Linked DNA regions of Homo sapiens: region 2 is linked to region 1. Evidence: promoter capture Hi-C in 16 types of primary human blood cells and fetal thymus (Javierre and others, 2016). All regions are on one chromosome and are shown on one strand. Each heading gives the region's core, a stretch centred on a gene start or on the middle of the fragment in contact. The rest is flanking DNA. Distances are from core to core; before and after follow the strand shown. Region 1 holds the start of LYPD6B (LY6/PLAUR domain containing 6B). Region 2 overlaps MMADHC (metabolism of cobalamin associated D).

Region 1 (6,948 bases), core at 3,178-5,677:
TGTAACCACCGTATTTCTTCCTTTCCCTGCTACCAAAACTAAACAATTCTGGAACATAATGATGAAAGAAATGACCCTTATTTTCCCTTTGCTCATGTTTCTACATTTATTTCTCATGACCTGGTACCATGTTTTTGTAAGTCATTATAAATCATATTTAGGAACAATGTGAGTTATAACAAACAATCAAAGAAATTCTGCATGAAAGAAATCCTATAAAATTGAGTTATTTAACATTTAACTGTCTTTTTCCACATGAACACCTGTCCTTTTTGCCCAAAACCCTACCTGCTTAGACCATATAGCTCTGCTGGAAACAAGAGAGAATAAGCCATGATTTCCAGCACTATATCCAGTTTGTTTCTAATGACTGCACTCTTGTCTGGATCTATTTTATTTTTTATTTCTGTACTTCTCACCGCCTGACTTATTAGACAAAACATAAATAAATGTCTCCATCTAGTAGACTGTAAGCTCCAATCCCCAGCACCTAGAACAGTGTCTGGCACACAGTAGATGCTCAATAAATATTTGTGAAATAAATGACTGCCCAAGGCATTTCTCTCTACCTCATTCCCTCACATTCTTCCAGTGATCCTGGCCAGCCCATGGCAGTATTGTTGCTGAAAACAGGAAAATATGCTGCCCTCCACTTCTGCTTTCTTCCAGCATTAGTGATCATGTCTTTTTGCCAATTTCTTTGCTAACTAGATATTGAGGATAGAGGATCATGAGAAGCGGCATCCTTGGTTGCCCAATCTGATTCCAAAAGTCCAGCACCAATGTCCACCAATGTCTACCATATAAAGCAGAAACAAAGTGCAGCACTCACTTCACATTTCAGATGAAAATAGGATACATGATTTCAAAGCAGTTCATGGTAGAGGCTGGTTTCCTACTAAATGCAACTACCAAAGTTATCGCTCTTTGGACTTAGCATCAGGAGAATTGTTTACTAGTCCAGGATCTACCATTAATTGCATCTTCACCAAGTCCCAGCCTGTTAGTTTGAAGACAGTTAACAATACTGAAACAAAGTCATGATTTAGAGCAACTAAGTGTTCTCAAGAGAGGGACAGGGAGTTTCCGGGGAAGGTAGGCAGTGGGTGCCCAGCAAAATCATATGTGAGGCTTTTCAAACTACACAGGGTTTGAAACTCTTCTGAAACTCCTCCACCCCAATCCACCCCTTGAGAATTGCCACCATAGAGTGAGCCACTGTTGCTATTACTATTGGGAGTATGGAAAACTCAGAGAAGCTTTTCCAGGTTTCAGGTGTAAGCTTGTTGAGGAATTGGACCAAGATTTACTATGCTTCTTAGTGACATCCATGGAATCTAATACAGGGTAGTCCTGTCTTTACTTACTTTTCCAACCTCAGCTCCTTTCCTCCCCTCAGCCACACCCTAGGCATCTCCCATGGTATTGGACTTCTGATTACCAATCTGTGCCAGACCTTGCATCACCTGTCCCCACCTCTGGGAGACACAGTTTGTTGCCTACCTAACAGCCCAACAGGCAGTCTCACTTTCCTCCTTGCTAACAGAATTCTGATTGTGTTCAGACATGGAGCATGGATGCTCAGGTAGGTGAGCCCCTCCTACAGCTCCGGAAAATAGCTTGGGCAAAACAATCATGGGCCCCTCTTCTCCTTTGCCAATGACTGGTTTCAGGGTAAGCGTTAGACCACTTTGGCCAGTGACGCGGGGAACTTCGGGGAAAATTTGTCCTTTATTATCTAGAGAAAGATTAAGCAGCAAGCCCCGGCCTTCTTTTTTCTGCTTTGGATGTTGTCATGTGAAGGCATGATGGAGCTCTAGTCACCCTGGAAAAAGAAGATAATTTTCTAGAAGCCACCAAAGAGCTGTGGCCACTTCGAACGACCTACCTTCAGATGTTCTAAGCAAGAAAGTAGAGTAACCTAAACATATTACAACAAAAAGTGTCCCTCTGGAATCCTACCACATGGCCTAGAATTTTTCTCCTAGACCAGCCCTTCTCATTTTCTTTTTTTTTTTTTTTTTTTTGAGACGGAGTCTTGCTCTGCTGCCCAGGCTGGAGCTCATTTTCAATTCAAAGCTCAACTACAGTTTCTTTGGGGAGTCTTCACTACGTCCCCAGACAGATGAGTCCTAGACGATGTTATCCTCATATCTGTCTTTCCAACTAGACTGTGAGCTTCTCAAAAGCAAGCATTTTCGCCCTTGGCAGAGGCCCTGGCATATGTTGAGCATTTATTATATGTCGAATGAATGAATAAACAAAAAACAATGAATGAAAAGATGGACACACAGGATGCCCTCCATGCATTAGATGAAGACTTGACTGATGGAATACGGCCCTCAGGCTGTCTACATTCTACTGCAGACTACCTTTAGGCGCTGGTGAGCAAAGACAGAGATAGTAAAATGAACATGTCCTGTTTTGTCAGACTTCTCATTGGGAATTGCGCCCCCTACCGACATGCCTTGCAGCAGAGGTGGGCCAGTCTATCAATCACAGTCGGTCATGTGCCCATTCCTGTTGTGTAAACCTCTCCCTGTCTGCTGAGATGGCTTGGTTCTGTTTTGGTCCAGTATGTCAATAAGATTGCTATAAGGGGCCGGGTGCAGTGGCTCACTCCTATAATCCCAGCACTTTGGGAGGCCAAGACGGGCAGATCACTTGAGGTTAGGAGTTCGAGACCAGCCTGGCCAACATGGTGAAACCTCATCTCCACTAAAAATACAAAAATTAGTCCCACGTGGTGGCCGGCGCCTGTAACTCCAGCTACTTGGGAGGCTGAGGCAGGATAATCGCTTGGACCTGGGAGGTGGAGGTTGCATGCAGTGAGCCGAGATCACACCACTGCACTCCAGCCTGGGTGACAGAGTGAGAGTCTGTCTCAAAAGAAAAAAAAAAAAAGAGAGAGAGAGAGAGAGACAGAGAGAGACTGCTATACGGATAGAGAAGATGGGATTCTCTCTCTCCCTCTTTGTCTCTGTCTCTCTCTCTGAAGGAGCAGATAAGCCTGAAGGTGCAAGTCCTATTTATCGTCCATACTAAGAACCAGTAAACACAGAGAGAAAAACAGCTAAGATATACAAGAGAGAGAACTAGCCCTGGAACCTTGTATGAGCCTCTGGAACTAGCTATAGCTTTAAACTGAAACCCTCGACCTTTTCATTTATGTGACCCAATCAATTTCTACATAGTATAAGGCAATTTTCAAGTGACCAAAACCCAACCCAAAGAAAACAATTCTGACAAATACGATGGGTAATGATGAGGGCAGTCTGACAACACCCCCTCCATCTGCAGGGCCCGTGCACTGGCAGCCCTAATCTTGGCCTCTGTGATGCTGTCAGCAAGTAAGGCATCCTGGAGGAAGCCTAACCATGAACAAGTCAGGGTGGGAAAGAATGCCCCCACCCCACAACACACACATCACCACATCAACACAAAGGGGGAAAAATCAAGCAGTATGCTATGTACTCCATGAACATCATATAACCTAAGTCTGTTGTAATGATTATAATATTAATAATACCTATTTTACTTTAAGGGAACTGAGGCTCAGAGCAGTTCAGTAACTTGCCCAAGGTCACACAGCTAGTTACTGGAATTTAAATAGCATTCTAGACTTTTCCCACTCTCTGATCCCCTGGCCTTGGGAGGTGGACAGCACCCCTCCACCCACCAGCTCCCCCCAAACGCCACAGGGCATACAGACCTGAAGCCTCACAACCCAAGCCCCCTGGAGTCAGAGCAGCCTCCAGACCCGGCTTTTGAGAAGCCCCAGGTAACTAACCAATGTGTAAGGTAGGTTATTCAACAACAAAAGTAAAGAGCCGGGGCAAGGGAAGCGGCGGCACCCAAGCTGGTCGCGCGTGAAGCGCTGCAGGGGGAAACACTGGAGCTGGCACGCTCGCTCTTGGCCCCACGATCGGCCTTGAACCCCAGCCCCAGCTCCGCGCTCTCTCCAGCAGTTTGACCCCCAGTATCTCCTCTCCCCTCGGCTCTGCCGAAGTCACTGGCCCCGCAGGGCTCTGGACGATTAGAGACCCACACCGCTCCAGCCTTGCCCCGGCCCCCTGCTCCCGTCCCGTCCAGATGTTGGCAGCTGCTCGCCTCGAGGCAGCGACCAGACCCCGACCCCGCCACTGCGCCGCGGCCCCGCGGCCCCGCGGCCCCGCGGCCCCGCGAGCTCCTGGCTGCCCCAGCGCGCCCAGAAGGGGCGCAGCGCATCTCCCGCCGCAGTCGCGCGGCCCCGCACTCGCTCCGGCGCGGGGTGAGCCGTCCCGAACCCACCACCGCCCCCGCCTGCTGCGCTGGCCCAGCTCACCTCGCCGCCCGCGCCCACCGAGCCTCTCGGCGCCCTCACCCGGCTCCCGGCCCAGGCTCCCAGCGCACCCGCCTGGGGCCGGCGTTGGCTGCTACCGCGCGGGGCGGGGCGCGGCTCCTCCCTGCCCTGAACCACCTGGGGCGCGGGAGGGGGCCGGGCCGGGACAGGTGAGCCTCGCCCGCGAGGGAGCAGCCCCGGGCCCGGCTCCGCTGGGAAACCGCAGGGCTCCACCACGAGGTTGAAAGGAGGCCCAGGCGGGCGGCAGTGTGGTAGTGGCCAGCGCTGGGGAGGCGGCAAGGAGCCTGTTCCCACCCAGCCAGCCCGGCTCAGGAAGTGAAAGAAGCACGGGATTCGGACCCCACCCAGCTTAAAGAGGGGAGGGTCCAACCCCTTTCTTCCTAGAAAACCAATGTAGAAACGAGGAGTGCAGACCCTCGGGAGTGAAAATGATTGGGCCAAGGGTGCAGGTGAGTTAGTTCAGGATTGGAAGAACTCTGAAAGACCTTTTTTGACCATTCCATCCAACCCCGTCCCCACCTTGCCCACCCGTCAAGTGATTCCCTCCCCCTTTTTAAATAATGACATTAAGCTATAAATAAGATAATTTCATATAGTGACGTCCTCCCCACCCCTGGACGGTAAGCCCCAGGAGAGGCAGGAACCTTACCCGTCCACTACTGAATCACCAGAGCTTTGAAAACTCAGGGCATTTAATACCTGATGAACAGACTAGGTGGCGCCCAGTCTTTTGCGTCCAGCGTTAGACTGGTCCCCTCGGCCCAGAGCTGCTCCAGCATCATTCCAAGCTTACTAGGGAGAATCCAGAGGCAAGCTGTTAGATTCCGGGCCACCTGTCCTCTCTCTACTGCTTACTCCCCACCCACTGCCAGCCAGGCAGCTGGGATGTGGGAGGTCTACACTCCCAGGGCACCTTATAGTGGTCAAGCAAATCTTTAACTTCTGAAGATGCCACAGACAGGAGAACTCTGAAATAAAACACTGTCCGGCCAGCCTTGCACTGTGGAAACACAGCTCAGAGTATGGGCCACTGACCCAAGATTCCATGGCTGGTAGCAAAGCTGATCCTGGGTCTGCATTTCTAAAGACAGTTGGCTGGTCTGGGGCCTTTGAGGGGCTGCTGGTTATGCCTGCAGTGGGGAAACCTGGGTACAGAACTTCTGCAGAAGTGGGGTCTGGGTTTGGTCCTCTGCTGAGACTTCTAATCTGTCTTTCCAGACCTCTGAGGTCAAGCATCTCCTGAGCCAGCTTGCATTTATTGAGGCCCCTGACAACCGCAAAAACAAAAACAATGGTATTTTTAGGTGTTCCATTTAACAAATGGCCTTCACTCACACACACACACACACACACACACACACACACACACACACACGAGGTAATGTGTCATGCTGCTCCTCACATGTTAATTTCAAGACTCGTTAAAAAAATCCATTCCGTGAAAAAATTCATTTCACTGCAGAAAGCACTGTACAACTTTAAAGTTGTATGGAGAACATTCCTTCTTATGACTATTTCAGTACACTTCCGTGACTATATATTAAACCTCCAAGGCCAAAATGGGAGGATCTCTATTAAGGTGAGGTCAGGGCCAAGAAGACTGCTCCACCCCTCCACTGACAACAAGCCCAACACTCTTAAGGTCTAGACACCCCACCCCTTCAGTGGGTTCTGCACATATGGGTATTTCAGATCTGGTGTTACCTGGCTGGCTACGTCACACTGGGCAAGGCCAACCTAGAAAAGGTTATATGGGATGCCCCACCTAGGTGTGCCCTACCTCAGTTGCTACTCCCTCTATGGTGGCAGGGAATCTGGTGTCCCAGGGTGGAGCTGTGGTGGGGCCTGCACTTTGGGACAGCCACTTGCACCAGCAGGTAGGGCTGAGCAAAGGAGCACCTCTGGGTCTCACTCACATGAAATGGACCTAGACCTTTTTTTGTGTTGGTTTCAGTCAGTAGAGCATGTGATCCCCTGTGATTTAAAATCCTGCTGCTGTGCGTGTGATCTTGGCTGGGCCAGCCTGCTAAGTGATGCCACCCAGACAGGCCTGAGAATCATCAGGAGGGTACAGGTTCTGCCCCAGTGCTTGCTTGCTTGCACGTGATCTCTCCCTCCCCACCCCACTCTCTCTCCTGTGCTTGCTGAGCAGCCTTGGGCATGTTCCTCAATTGTGTGTTTTTCCTACTTGGAAAATGTGCAGCCATGAAATCAGACAAGATCTCTGTTTGAAGTTTTTTGCTTAAAAGGGGTATCTGAAATAAGAAGTTCTGATACTGTTGTGTGGCTAAGTTAAATAATCCACGTAAAGTGCTTGAGCACAGCGCCAGCACAAAGCACCTGCTCAGTGAACAGTAGCTCTGCCTAGCAGTGCAAAGAGAGCCAGCCCACTTCTGATCAACATTAAAATGCTGGAAATAGGGACAAAACCACTGATAGACTTCATAAGACTCTAGAATGAATTAATTAATCTTTACAAATAACTATTTATTGCTATTCTCTACTGGTCTCTAGGAGAATGATATTTGAACTAGAAAATCTTCAGTTTCTGCTCTATCTCTAGTTCTCTGATAATATAATGAAATATAAATTATCCAAAGAAGCAA
Region 2 (6,948 bases), core at 2,636-5,135, 540 kb before region 1:
GAAATTTTAGATTCCTTTAGATCCTGAGGCATTCTCTTAAATATCCTTAGTTGTAAAGGTAAATTTGTATTATATAAACACCCAAAAGTCTGAGTTTGTTTAGTAAGTAAAAAGCCAAATAATTACCATTTTTGTTTCTTTGGGCAAGTTGGGTACAGACCCCAAGAGAGGCAGCCTAAATTTTCAGGTTGACAGAATGCTTTGGAGACACGTATCACAAAGGAGGTTATATTTATCCAGGTCTTAAAGAAAAAGTAAGAATTTGCTAGAATTTTCTAGAACGATAAGGAAACAGTATCTTTTAGCAGAAGAATTCTTATGGCAGTATAAAGAATGAAGAGAAATGGGAAATGTTGGGGAGATATTTTTATGTAATTGAAAAGTAGAGTAAGGGAAGGGAGGGTAAATTTGTAGGAAATTATGTCAGAAAGGCAAAAAGACCAGTTAAGATGCACTCATAGTGACAAAGGAGGAAGGAAAAAATAGGTTGGATATTAGAATACTGTACTTTGTGAAAAGGAAATAGAATAATTCTCAGGTGTCAGATGGCTGGATTTTTCCAACATCCTGGTAACTGATTTTCACACCACCTCTCTACTCCTCCTCCAGTCCATTTTTTATACTGCCCTTAGTGGTACATTTCTTAAAACAGCCTTTGTTTTTGTCAGTTTGCTCTGACTCTTTCCTGCCTACAAATTAAAATTCCGACTTACTATCTTGATGTAACAAGCCCTTTACCATCTGTGTCAAATATACAGTCTTTTATAGTTGCCCATAAGTTCAATTTCAAACCTTTTTTTAATTGCATTCTTATACCTACCCTCACTGAATTTGTCACTCTTTGAAATATGTCTTTATTCCTTTGTTCCTGAAAGTCACTCATTGAAATGCACCTTTTCCCAAGCAAATTTTTACTGTATTCAAAATTTAGTATATCCTCCATGAAATTTATTACCTTTTCTCCCAAGGATTTCTTAACAATTATTCAGATCTTTTCATAGCATTTCACAGATGATTTGATATTTGTTTTTACATCTTTTTCACTAAACTGAGAGTTGCCAATGTCTGTGTGTATGTGTGTTTTTAATACAAATATCCGGATAGTGCATATTTTAGGCTTTGTGGGCCACAGAATATCTCTTGTAACTACTTAACTCTGCCATTGTCGTGGGAAAGTGACCATAGGCAGTACATAAATTAGTATGTCTATGTTACAGTAAAACTTTATTTACCAAAACAGTGGGCTGTATTGGGAAATCGTTCGCCAATCCCTGCATTAAATTGTTCTGACCCAAGTACTTTGTTAAAAAATTTATGAATGAAAGATTGTTAAAAAATTTATGAATGAAAGATATTTACACATTCATCCATTGTAATACATGACCTCACTGTCTAGTAAGTGAACATATAAGCAGAAAAAAATATACCACAAAGATACGTGCTGAAATGGAGAAAAGCAGACATTGCCATGAAACCACAATGAAAGGACAGTATGGGAGAGAATTAGCGCAATTTATAGCAGTAAAAGAAGAGAGAAAAGTTCGAAAGTAACAGATTTTGGTCCAAAGAGATGTCTTGAGAGTTCTTTATTGAGGATAGAAGAATCTTGTTAGTTGTGCTACCTTTTTAGTGTTGTGTCTAAATAAGACAACTTTTAGATGTCTATTCTCTCATGTGTGGCACTCTTGAATTCTAGCCTTTATTGAAAAGTACATAGGCTTTTACCCAAACTAACTTATTACTTGTTTTTTTAATTTTTATTTTTATTTTTAAAATTACAAATATATATAATGCTTTCATATAGTAGGTGTTCAGTAAAAGTAGAATAAATGTTGGTTTTAAAAGAACCTTGCAGTGTGAAGATTTGCCAGAGATTGTCTATGTAAGTATAACATTTATATTCAGAACAAATAGTTTTAATTTTGTGTCATTTCTAGGTGCTTTGTAACAGAGCCAGACTGGTTTCCTATCTCCCAGGATTTTGCTCTTTAGTTAAAAGGGTTGTCAATCCCAAAGCCTTTTCGACTGCAGGATCATCAGGTTCGGATGAGTCTCATGTGGCTGCTGCACCTCCAGATATATGTAAGTGAAAGTTGTTACTGCTTTACTTATAATTGTTTCAAAACATTTTTAGTTGTATTTTCCTCTAATATTTCTTCTTAAGGCTTAATGGATTTTTCTAAAGTTGTGTTTGTTCAGTTGAAAATGAATCACAGCTCTGCCTAAATATATTTATGTCAGAAAGCTACAGTATTGAAAAAAGAGTAAGTACTGGTTTCTAAAGCTTACTTCTTAAACTTTTCTTTCTGTCTTCAAACATAGAGTCTTCCCTGAAACAAATCTCCTTTTGGTCCTGTTAAACCATATTATTATTTCTTCCCATTCTTTGCTAGATTTCATAAATGTACCTTGTACTTTTTATGTGTTAGTGTTTATTGAACTTACCTGCTTTCTACAAAGTCTGTTTCTTCTAACCTGTTTGGTACACCACTACCATGCTAATCATTCTAAATTATTTTAACCATGTCCCTTTCTTGAAAAACCTGTTATCTTTCATTGCTTTCAGCAGTAGTTCCCAGACTACCTTCAAGCCATGAAGCTTTGTTCAAGGTTAAAAAGAAAAAGTGGGGGTAGGGGGATAGTCTCTGTGGTAGGTAAGTTTGAGAAATGCTACATGCCATATTCCTGCCTTGGAGGCTTATAAGGCACACTAAAATATTAAAGACTCTTAGAAACTTAACCTAATGTGTCCTAAAGATATTGGACATGGAATCCTTTTTTCATGGCACACATTACTTACAACGTAATTTAAGTTCACTTGAGCATTCAGAGCCTTCCATCCTGCCCAAGTTTTCTAACTCTCTGACTACTCCCCAATTTACATCACCTAAAGACTAACCATATATTTATAATAAATGAAAGATTTTGCCATTCAAATTATATAAGATGTTAGTATCTGGAATATATAAAGAATTTATAATAGATCAATAGGAAAAGATAACCCAACAGAAAATCAGAAAACAAAAGGACATGAATAGGCCTTTCACAGAAAACAAAACCTAAAATGACCAGTAAACATATGGTCAAATCCACTGCCCAAATCTACTATTAATATGGGATGCTTGTTTTCTGTAAAGAGAATCTAGGGATTGTTAGACTTTTAAAAACCATCTTGTTCAAAAATAGCTAACAGGTTTTCTCTTGGGAAGTGACTTGAGTAGTCATTAGTGGCTGTCTAGATAGAGCCTTGTTATTCAACATGATCTGCATCAGTATCATTTAGGAGCTTGTTAGAAATACAAAATCTTGAGCCCCACTCCAGACCTATTAAATCAGAATCTGCATTTAAACTAGATCCCAGATGTATCTTAAGTACATCTTTAGAGTTTGAGGGGCACTGGACTAGAGTGTTTATGTTGAGAATCTTGAGACGTTGTCTGGGTTCAGCAGGAAATGGTTCCATGATTGATGGGTGATGTATGTCCTAAGTGTGGAAGAGGGATATGGTGGCTCATGATCCAGGAATGAGACAGCCATGCTGACATGGCCATTCTCAGTTACTTAGTTCTCTGACAGGATATTTTTAAATATCTATTTTTATTGCTAAGTAATATGCATAGCAGTTGTCCCTCTGTTTCTCTAAGCCCAGATCTCTACTCTGAGTAATTATTAGTTTAATTTTCTACTTTATTCTTTTCTGAATCTTTCTGAATTTTTTATAAGTTAGGATTTTTTTTAAAGTTTTAAGTGAATAAAGTAATGTGGTCTGTTCTATATTTGCAATCCATATTAACTCATGTGGCTGGTAAACAGAGCATTAGGTCATGTGATGCATGATTTTTTTTCCCGTTCGTATTTTGTGCCACCAGATAACAGCAGCAGAATGCCCCTCCCCAGACGACCATTACTAAGTTTCATTTTAGATCTTCTCTTTACTTAAAAACATGGGCCTGGCACAGTGGCTCATGACTGTAATCCCAGCACTTTGGGAGGCTGAGGGAGGAGGAGACCTTGTGTCTACCAAAAATAAACAAAATTAGCTGGGCATAGTGGTGTGCACCAGTGATCCCAGCTACTTGGGAGGCTGAGGTGGACCTCAGAGGTCAAGGCTTCAGTGAGCTGCGATCACACCACTGTACTGCAAGAGACCCGTCTCAAAAACAAAACAATACGTGAATATGGGGATGTAAATAAATGTTATTATACATGCTGTTCTTTGACTTAGCTTTTTCTTTTAACGCATTGTATCCTGGATTTCATTCAGTGTCAGTATGTAAAGGTTTATTGTCTTCTTTTTAATGACATTCAAGCATTTCTTAGTATGGATTAGAGTATTTTATTCAGTCTTTCCCCTAATAACGGACTTGCCTGTGATCTGTCAATCAGTTGCTTTGATTAGTGTTTTGGAAACAATAGGAAACTATTTATATTCACATGGGAAAGCAGATTTTGAAGATCTTTTAGATAAAAATATACATAATTTTAAGAAGAGCATTCTTTCAGTCTACCAATATACTTGACTATTAAGGAGAAACTGTTCCTTTTGTTGTTTCTCTTCAGGCTCTCGAACAGTGTGGCCTGATGAAACTATGGGACCCTTTGGACCTCAAGATCAGAGGTTCCAGCTTCCTGGGAACATAGGTTTTGATTGTCACCTCAATGGGACTGCTTCACAGAAGAAAAGCCTGGTTCATAAAACTTTGCCTGATGTTCTAGCAGAACCTTTATCAAGTGAAAGACATGAGTTTGTGATGGCACAATATGTGAATGAATTTCAGGTAAATTGTTGGTAACATTTATTGTGCTTTCCTGATTATTAATGCTATATGACTTGATTATTATAAGCATATTACTTTTGTTGAAAAAGTAAAAAATCAATTTAATTCCAGTACATGTATATACAAAAACAGCATATATAGCTTTGGAAAACTTGGCATTGTCCTCTACAAAGTGTTTGCTATATAATTTTTTTACTGTAGATTATAATATTTTTAAAATATTTCTTGAAAAGTATGTTTTTAAGTAACTACTCTAGATATACATAATGTAATTACATCTGTAGACTGGAAATTTAGGTTCCCTGTTTTTCATTTTTAATAAATGGCAATTAAATTTGTATATGGATCTAATTCCAACTGGTTCTGTATTCCTCTAGCCATTTAAAAGCTTAAGAAAAATTTGAGATCTCTGAAATTGTTCAGATATAGTAAAAAAAAAAAAAAGGAACCAGTTTCATAAGTTTATTTTTTCTTAAACAATTTATTAAGGTTTGTTTGGGTTTTTTTTTTTCATTTTTAAACATTTTAAACTTGCATTTATGATTATTTATTTAAGTGGAAAGCTACATGCAATTCAGGGTTTCTGTCAAACCCCTGATGGTTATCATTTTTCATATTTTTGCATAGTTTTAGGCTGAGTTTTTTTTTATCAAAGCCATATTATAAGCAGCACCAATTCCTTACATTTGAGTTATGTTAGATGACATGACACTGAGACACAGTTGACCTGTCCTATATTTTTATCTCAGATAATTCCTTCTCAGCCTTCTTGGCTCCTTGTTCTTCCTGTCTACCAACTAAATTACATTTCCCATAAGTTTCTGTCCTACACCTTCTCATTTGAATCACCCCTTGGTCACTTAATCCCTTGGCCGCCTCCACAGTCTATGTTTTTATAATTTCTAATTCAGTATTTCTATTTCTGACATTTCCAGTTCTATATTTCTATATGCCTACTGAACCATCTTTGTTTGGATGTCTCACAAGTCCCCAGATTTTGTGTGTCTAATACTGAAGTAATCTTTTTTTCCTTAAAAACCTGTCCTAACTCCTGTATAACCAATACTATTAGTGGAATAACCATCCTCCCCTCTCTCGTAAGATAAAACTTATAGCACCAACCTTCTTTCTCCATCATATCACTATAAATAATATAAAAATCACATCGCTTTTATCTCTCAAGTTGCTCCTAAAATATTAGTGTCCTTTCAATTCTTTGCCAGAGTTCAAGGCCTCTTTGTCTTACCTGGATTTTTAGAGTCATTGTAGCATGACACACAATGAAGATAGAATAAATCTGGGTTCAAAGATTGACTCTGCAACTTACTTAATTTTGTGACCTCGAGGAAATTACTTAACCTTTCTAAGCTCCTGTTTCTTTGTTGTTGTTGTTGTTGTTTGGTTTGTTTGTTTTGAGATGAAGTCTTGCTCTGTCACCAGGCTAGAGTGCAGTGGTGCGATCTTGGCTCACTGCAACCTGCAACTCCCTAGTTTAAGTGATTCTCCTGCCTCAGCCTCCCGAGTAGCTGAGATTACAGGCGTGCACCACCACACCCAGCTGATTTTTGTATTTTTAGTAGAGGTGGGGTTTCACCATGTTGGCTAGGATGGTCTCGATCACCTGACCTTGTGATCTGGCCGCCTTGGCCTCCCAAAGTTCTGGGATTACAGGCGTGAGCCAGTGTGCCTGACCACTCCTGTTTCTTTATAAATGTCACATGAGGATAGTAATAATCTCTAGCCCACAATATTTTTTTTTCTTTCTTTTTTTTTGAGACAGAGTTTTGCTCTGCAAATCTTGGCTCACTGCAACCTCTGCCTCCTGGATTCAAGCAATTCTCGTGCCTCAGCCTCCCAACGAGCAGGGATTACAGGCATATGCCACCATTCCTGGCTAATTTTTGTATTTGATATTGCTGTTTCTCATTGCCTGTAGACTAAAGTCCAAATTTCTTAATGCTGAATAAATGGCATTTCATAATTTTGATCCCTTACCTTTCCCACCTTATCTGCCACTACTTCCTATTCCCTCTGCACTCCAGCCACAACATACTTGCCATTTTTCTTGAATACACATTCTGTGTCTTTGTACTTTATTATCTTTTGCTGGACTATTTTTCCTCCTGAATTCCTAACCTCTGTACCAGCTATTTTTTACCTGTCAGACATA

The links. Contacts are between HindIII fragments. The CHiCAGO score rates a contact against its expected background, and 5 or more counts as called.
Region 2: a contact is called between a fragment that was not itself captured here and the fragment with the promoter of LYPD6B in region 1, in 2 of 17 cell types (M2 macrophages and monocytes). The highest score is 6.6, in M2 macrophages.

Annotation. Positions count from the first base shown.
Region 1 is chr2:149,036,178-149,043,125 of GRCh38, reverse strand. LYPD6B (LY6/PLAUR domain containing 6B) reads right to left here and starts at 4,427. Exons shown (of 7, transcript NM_177964.5): 1 at 4,325-4,427. RefSeq lists enhancers at 3,935-3,994, 4,035-4,084, 5,298-5,357 and silencers at 4,165-4,324, 4,335-4,674. The HindIII fragment of the contact is 3,848 bases long and covers 1,285-5,132 here.
Region 2 is chr2:149,577,261-149,584,208 of GRCh38, reverse strand. MMADHC (metabolism of cobalamin associated D) reads left to right here. Exons shown (of 8, transcript NM_015702.3): 3 at 1,938-2,082; 4 at 4,561-4,778. Among named protein-coding and RNA genes, the nearest start is that of MMADHC-DT, 6.6 kb to the left of the region's middle. The HindIII fragment of the contact is 2,567 bases long and covers 2,602-5,168 here.